Linked DNA regions of Homo sapiens: region 1 is linked to region 2. The links are contacts of gene promoters, found by promoter capture Hi-C in blood cells and fetal thymus (Javierre and others, 2016). All regions are on one chromosome and are shown on one strand. The core of a region is centred on a gene start or on the middle of the fragment in contact, and the rest is flanking DNA. Distances in the headings are between cores, read along the strand shown. Region 1 overlaps WNK2 (WNK lysine deficient protein kinase 2). Region 2 holds the start of NINJ1 (ninjurin 1).

The links. The method cuts DNA at HindIII sites, captures the fragments that hold promoters and counts their contacts. A CHiCAGO score of 5 or more calls a contact.
Region 1: a fragment that was not itself captured here is called in contact with the fragment with the promoter of NINJ1 in region 2 in 1 of 17 cell types (neutrophils); the score reaches 5.3 in neutrophils.

Annotation. Positions count from the first base shown.
Region 1 is chr9:93,285,275-93,288,871 of GRCh38, reverse strand. It overlaps WNK2 (WNK lysine deficient protein kinase 2), which reads right to left. Exons shown (of 30, transcript NM_006648.4): 20 at 1-84. Among named protein-coding and RNA genes, the nearest start is that of WNK2, 100 kb to the right of the region's middle. RefSeq lists an enhancer at 1-222. The HindIII fragment of the contact is 6,054 bases long and covers 1-3,597 here.
Region 2 is chr9:93,132,393-93,136,213 of GRCh38, reverse strand. It overlaps NINJ1 (ninjurin 1), which reads left to right and starts at 1,963. Exons shown (of 4, transcript NM_004148.4): 1 at 1,963-2,071. The coding sequence starts at 1,997. It overlaps LOC124902212 (a long non-coding RNA gene), which reads right to left and starts at 3,202. Exons shown (of 3, transcript XR_007061665.1): 1 at 2,621-3,202. RefSeq lists enhancers at 653-1,249, 2,709-2,758 and silencers at 1,219-1,268, 1,769-1,998, 2,169-2,418. The HindIII fragment of the contact is 11,448 bases long and covers 1-3,821 here.

The sequences.
Region 1 (3,597 bases), core at 405-2,904, 150 kb before region 2:
GGCCCGCCTGGCTCAGGAGCTGCTGACTGGCTAGAAAGCTGGGTTGTTCCTTCGAGGACAGCTGGTCTTTATAGGGCGCTGAATCTAGAAGAAATGGGGAAAATGCCTTTGTACCAGGGTACTCCAGTCCTATCTACCTGTTTCTTCCTTGGCTAAAAAGATGCCTTACACAGCTGGCCATGGCCCCAGCGTGCTGGTCTTCTCTGTTTCCCGACACGCCAGGCTCCTGCCTGCCTGCAGCTCAGCCCAGCCTTGGCTGCTGCTTCCTGTAACGCCTCCCACAGGTCTCTGAGCCACCAGCTTCGCAACTCCAGGTCCCTGTTCCCATAGTGTCCCTTGTGGCTGAACCAGCACCACCCTTCCTTCTGTGTCTTCTGTAGCGTGTGACCATCAGCTGTGGCTGTTGCCTGTCTGTCATCTGTCTGTCCACACCCTCACCCGCACAGACAGCTCCAGAAAGATACGGCTCTTGTCTATCTTGCACTGGACAAAAGTTATTCAATGAAATTTCAAAATTAAAGAGTTTAAGTAGTGAGCTGTACACACTTCCATGCCCAGGAGTGAGCAGGAGCCTGAAGCCTTCAGACCCCCAGTCTTTGGTATGGTCAGAAGCGCAGCCAGGGCTGGTCAGTGACCCTGTGGGAGGAATCCAGAACCCCAGCAGTATAACCAAGTCTCCCAGTGCCTTGTGCAGGAGCTCATGGAGCCTCCACCAGGCTCACAGGGACTGCGGGCATCTGAGAGGTGGCAGGACGGTGTTTCTCAAACTTGGCCTTGGAGCCCAGTTTTCCTTACTTGAAAATGCAACCCGACCTTTCTTTTTTTTTGGAGATGGTCTGGCTCTGTCACCCAGGCTGGAGTGCAGTGGTGCAATCTCGCCTCACTGCAACCTCTGCCTCCCGGGCTCAAGCAATCCTCCCACCTCAGCCTTCCTTGTAGCTCGGACCACAGCTGGATAATTTTTGTATTTTTCATATGAGACTGGGTTTCACCATGTTGCCCAGGCTGGTCTTGTACTCCTGGGCTCAAGCAATCCGCTGGCCTCAGCCTCCCAAAGTGTTGGGATGACAGGTGTGAGCCCCCACGCCCAGCCCACTTTGTCTTTTTAAAAAACACAAAGAAAATGAACACAAAAAAAGAAAACTGTTCAAAAAATAAAAGGTGAGAATGGGGAGATTAATAGGACCCTGATGCCCTCCCTCGTGCCCCCAGACTCCCTTGGTCCCCATCCCCTGCCTGGCCCAACAAAGGTAAACTAATTTGACCAAAATTTCCTCCACTGCTCCTTTCCGGCCTTACCGTTCGTCTGTCTAAACATGATGGTCGTGCTGCACGTTCTATCAATGGAATGGTACTCTATTCTGTGGTGCCTGGCCTCTCTCACCGTGTTTGTGAGATGTGTCCTTGTTATTGTTTGCACAACTGCACCATGATGCACGCATCCATTCTGTGTTGGTACTCACTGGGCTGTGGCTGGGTGGGACCACGACTAACACTGAGGCACAGTGCGTGCAGGCCCGTGTCCTGCCAGGCACACGCCACTGGGGAGCTGCTGGTCACTGATCCCCTTTAGCTTTATGTAAGGGTGCCAAGGTGCTTCCCCAAGCAGGAGCCAATGCCCCCACCATCGGCAGCCTCTGAGCACCCCTAGGGCTGTGTGATGGCGTCTTATTGTGGCTCTTTATTGTTTTTTAATTATGGAAAAAACATTTAAGATGAGATCTGCTGTCTTAACACATTTTTAAAAGCATGATACTCTATTGTTAACTATAGGCACTATGTTGTGTGGCAAAGCTCTAGAGCTTACTCAGCTTATATAACTGAAACTTTATGCCCTCAATGGTAACTCCGTTTCCCTCTCCCTCCAGCTGCTGGCAACTTCCATTCTGCTCTCTGCTTTGACTGTTTTTGACTTTGACTGTTTTAGATACTGCATATGAGAGGAATGAATCGTGTAGTCTTTCTGTGCCTGGCTTATTTCATATAGCATAATGTCCTGTAGGTTCATCCATGTCGTCGCAAATGGTAGTTTCCTTGTTTTTGTGGTTAAACAGTACTCCACTGTGCAAACATATCACATTTTCTTTATCCATTCATCTGTGAAGACACTTAGGTTGTTTCCATATCTTGGCTATTGTGAATAACGCTGCAATGAACACAGGAGAGCAGGTATTTCTTCCAAACCTTGTTTTCAATTATCTTGAATATATACCCAGCAGTGGGATTGCTGGATCATACGGTAGTTCTATTTTAATTTTTTGAGGAAGGTCCACATTGTTTTCCATAATGGTTGTAGTAATTTACACTCACACCACACTGCACAAAGGTCCCCTCTCTCCACATCCTGGCCAATACTTGCAGTCCTTTGTTTTTGAGAGCAGTGATCTTAACAGGTGTGAGGTGATAGCTCAGTGTGGTTTTGATTTGCATTTCCCTGATAATACTTAATTCAATTGAGTACCTTCTCCTGTGTTCACTGGCCATCTGGGTATCTTCTTTTAGGACACACCTGTTCAAGTCTCTTGCCTGCTTTTCTACAGAGCTGTCATTCTTTTCTTTTTAATTTGTGGTTCTTCATGATGCTGGGTAGAGAACTGTCTGGGGGCTATCTGTACTACAGAATCTCTCGCTCCGTGACTCGCCTATGTGCTCGATTAGTGGTGTCTTTTGATAAACAATAGTTTTTTATTTTAATACAGTCAAATTTAACCAATTTTTAGCCAGTCTTTCCATTTGCATATTTTGTTGAACTTTAACGTATGTGTTCTACGTGGGGGCCATAATGATACTGCCTCTTATTACTTCTAGGAACTTTACTGTTTTCCCTTTTACATTGAGATTCACAAGCGACTTGTTACTGAGTTTTGTGTGTGGTATGAGGATCATCTCCCTGTGTGGACAGCCTACTATCCCAACTCTTTCTGTTGAGAAGACCACCCGGTCTCCACTGTTTGACAATCGGACCTTTCTTGTCAACCACGTGTCCAAAGATGTGGGCCTGCTTCTGAGCTGGCTTGACTCCATTGCTCAATTTCTCTACCCTTGTTCTAGGACCAGATTGTCTCTGTGACTCCAGGTTTATATGAGTCACAACATCTGGGAGAATGGTATCCTTCCCCTAGAAGCTGTCTTGGTTTTTACTGGTTTTTGCATTTCTGTAAAGAGTATATAATCAGTGTGTTGATGCTCATTTAGAAATTGTTAGAATCTGAATCTGCAGATCTGTTTGGGAAGAAGTGTTTATAATACTGAATCTTCCAGTCCATGAATATGGTACATATCTTCCTACTCATTTCTTTTTAAAATTTCTCTCAATGTTTTGTAGTTTTTGGTATACAGATGTTACATACTTTTCGTTAGATTCATACACTGGTGTTTGGCATTTTTGTGTTACTATAAATTGAATTTTTCAATATTCTTTATTTTCTGATTGTTGTTGGTATACAGAAAGATAACTGCAGTCTGTAGCTACTTTGCTAACTTATTAATTCCAATTTATCTGTAAATTTAAATCTCTATGTATATAATCATGTTATCAGCCAACAGTGGTAGTTTTATTTCTTCCTTTCCAATCCTTATCACTTTTTAAAACAGTAA
Region 2 (3,821 bases), core at 714-3,213:
ACACCCACACGTCCTGCCAGCAGCCCCAGGAGCTGAGGAAACTGAGGCTGGGAGAGGGTCTCAGACGGCCAGCACAGAGCAGGTTTACAAACCCCGAGGCTGATGTCCCAACTGTCACTGGTGCTGCGACCCTCCCGGCTTCCTCTTAGAAGGTGGGAATGGGGCCAGGCGCAGTGGCTCATGCCTGTAATCCTAGCACTTTAGGAGGCTGAGGCGGGCAGATCACCTGAGGTCAGGAGGTGATCTGGCCAACATGGTGAAATTCTGTCTCTACCAAAAATACAAAAATTAGCCGGGCGTGGTGGCGCACACCTGTAGTCCCAGCTACTCAGGAGGCTGAGGCAGGAGAACGGTGTGAACCCGGGAGGTGGAGCTTGCAGTGAGCCAAGATCGCACCACTACACTCTAGCATGGGCGACAGAGCAAGACTCCATCTCAAAAAAAAAAAAAAAAAAGGATGGGAATGATGAACCACACTGCAGGAGCTCCCACATGGCACAAAGGAAAGAATACTCTCAGGACGGGGTCTCCACCTGCCAAGCCCTCCTACTTCGGGGCCTCTCTACACGCCCTTGGCCTTCCAAGGTCTCAGGGCTCCCCTGCAGCTCCCAGGGCCCTTTCTGGGTGTGACGTATTTTCTCTGTGGTCCCACACCTCCTGCCCCTCCAGGAATTGAGCCCTCGTGGGCAGGCACTATCCCCCAGAATAGGGATTTGTCCCATACTGTGAGAGAGTTTTTTGTGTGAATGGTGCTGGATTTCCAGCTGCTGGTGAACACTCAGGTGTGCCAACAGTGCCCTGATTATGCGAGGACAACAGCAACCATCCCCGTCGTGGGCCACCGTGCCAGACCCTGTCCTGCAGATCCCCTCTGAGGCAGAGCTGGGGCAGTGACAGCCTGAGCCTCAGTTTCTCTGCTGTGAAGTGGGCCCACGACAGCTCCTCCTTCATGGGATGACCCCGTTTGGAGGATCAGGGCAAGCGCAATCCTGCTGCCCTGCCCATGCCCACTCACTCCTACCTCCTGTCCCGGTGGCAGCCTGACTGGACAGAGCCTGGGGTCTGAGCTGGCCTTCCTTCCACTGCCCTTCTGGAAATAGAGTGGCCATACTGCCGCAAGCTGACTATGCTGTGGTCAGGATGAACTCCCCTGGCCTCCCAGGGTGGCCGCCACATGCTCTCGACCCCCAGGCCCCCAGATGGGCAAAGTGCTGAGGAATGAACATATGGAGAAACAGAGACCAAACAACCACTTCAATCATACAACAGGTGGGGGCCCGCCTAGCATCTGGCCAGGGCTCTGGGCACTGTGCTGCCCCCAGCCCACCCCCTGCCACAGGTGGCACAGATGGGCCCATGAGTCAGCGCACGTTCATCCCCTTTGTGCCTCCCCCAGCCCCTCCAGCAGTCTGTGCCCTCATAACCCCCATTTCCCAGGCAGGAAAACCTAAGGTCAGGGAGTGGGAAGCCCTGTGTCAGCGTGGCCCGCAATCAGGGGAACCCCGGACTCTCTGACGCTGTTACTAGGGGCGCAGCAGGCGCTGTGCTGGAGCGATCTGCGGTTCCCAGGGCGAACCCCGCCTGGGAAAAACCCAGCGTGGGCGCCAGCGGCAACGCCCGCTCGCTTTCATGCAGTTTGCCTGGTGGCCAGGGAAAGGTCGTTCTTGGCCTCATTTTGTGGATTAAAAGTGTCCGCGACGGAGGTTCAGAGCAAGACGCAGCGCAGGGTCCTCTGGGGCCATCGGCGTCGCGCCCCCTCCCTTGTGGGGCCCCGCGGGACCGTCTCAGGCCCGAGGGGTTGGGGTCGCCCCAAACTGCGCGCTCTCAGCGTACAGCCTCCAGGCCCCGGGCCCGCCCCGGGTGGAGGCGGAGTCTGGGGCAGCAGCTCGCCGCCGGGCGGGCCGGGGGCGGGCCGGGGGCGGGCGCGCAGCTGGAGCCTGCGGCTGAGGCTCGGGCGCGCTCAGGCCCGGATCCTGGCGGCCTGGGCGGCCGCACCATGGACTCGGGAACCGAGGAGTACGAGCTCAACGGCGGCCTGCCTCCGGGCACACCCGGCTCCCCGGACGCCTCGGTAAGACCTTCCCCCCACCGCTGCATGATCTTGCCAGGCCCTGTCCTTTCGGGGCGCCGCGGCTCCCCGGGCACCTGTGTGCGCCGCGTCCGCACTGCAGAGTGTTGGGGGACGTCCCGCTCTAGGCCAAGTCCTTCCCGCCCCATCAGGGTCAGAACGATGCCCCCGGGAGCTCCAGCCACCCCCGGCAAGTGGGCGGGACGAGGGGGCGTGGGGGCGCAGGGCGGGCTGGCGTCCCCAGCCCCACTAAGCAGCGCCCGCGCTTGGCTGCACGGCGGAGGGGGCCTCGGCGCAGCTCCTCGGGCTAAGGACTGCCGGCGCCCGGCTTTCCCGACCTCCCCCCCACTCTCGCGCGGGCCTCTCTAACTTCAGCCTCGCCGTGCCGGCTCCTCCGCGCACTTTGCCCGGAGGCGGGCGGAGGGGAGTCACAGCCTCCGGGCTCCAGACCAGCTGCATGCAGACAGTTACGTCACCCCACGCTGACCACACAATCTGATGCGTGCCTTGATGGGGGAACTTGGGGCCCGCTGTGGTCCCTATTCCACTCACCTGCCTTGAGAAATAGAAACGTCACACAGCCTTCAGTGTATGCCGCCACCGGCCCTCCAGAACTTGCCCTGCCCGGCCTGGGAGGGCTGTGGGCAGGGGGCAGGCCCTGGTAGTGGTCCCGCTTCAGAATTCTTCATCCCAGGACTCAGCACTTACTGAGCACCTTGTGTTTGTTGCAAGGTCCTGGCATGGCCCTCTGGTGACTTGTTTACTTTGAACATTCTTTCCTTTTCTAACCCCCTCAGGGATGGGGGCAGGGAACAGCAGCCTGTTGGGTTTTTCCAGGCCTCTCCATGGCGTGGACCAGACTGGGGCAAAGACACTCTGCCCACTCGCTGGTGAACAGTCCTAGGCCGGTGCTGTGGGGACAGGACATGTTCGGGGAGGCGGGGCCCCATGAGCCACGGGATAGGATGGCCCTGGGGCTGCATGGACACTTGTTCCTAGGTTAGAGAGGAGCTGTCGCACTGCAGGACTTGACCGGTGTGCGGGACCCCAGCGACCTGGCCCTGCCCCAGTGTGTGAGCACTTTGGAGCAATAGGCAGGGGGCTCCTCCGGCTGTGTGTCCTTGGGAAGTTGCCACACCTCGCTGGGCCTTTTAGACATGGTCTTATAAAGAGAGAACAAAGGGTCTCTCCTGCCTTCAGGGAAGTGGGGAAAGCAAGTCAGGTAATAAACAGGTCAGTGGCTTGGAAGCGCCTTGGAAAGGAAGGGATACTGCTCCTCCCCCAACCCTGACCTTGCCCGGGCAATGCCCTCCACTCAGAGCAGTCTCTGCTCACTTCTGCGGGCGGCAGGATAGGCTGTGCCTCCTGAGATGGGTGCATCTCAAGCCCAGAGGAGATTGGGTTGGATTTGTTCCCGGATCACTGTCTTGGCTCTGGGCACCAGAGGGAGAGAGACACAGCCCCGCCCCACCAAGCCGCGGTTGGAGAGCAGCCCAGCCCAGACAGGGCAGGAGAGGCCAGGGCAAAGCAGGGGGTTCCCTGGGGGCTGGGAGCCCATCGTGGGGGGCGGGGCATGGTGGTCAGGGAAGGCTTTCTGTGGAGGTGGGGACATTGGCTCTGAGCCCTGGAGGGCAGGGAAGGTGGGTGAGCAGATCTGGCTCTCTGAGATGTGTGGAAGGGCATCTAGGCAGAGGGAACAGTGGGAGCAAAGGCTCAGAGGCTGGACCACAGAGCACATGAGGGCCAGGTAGGA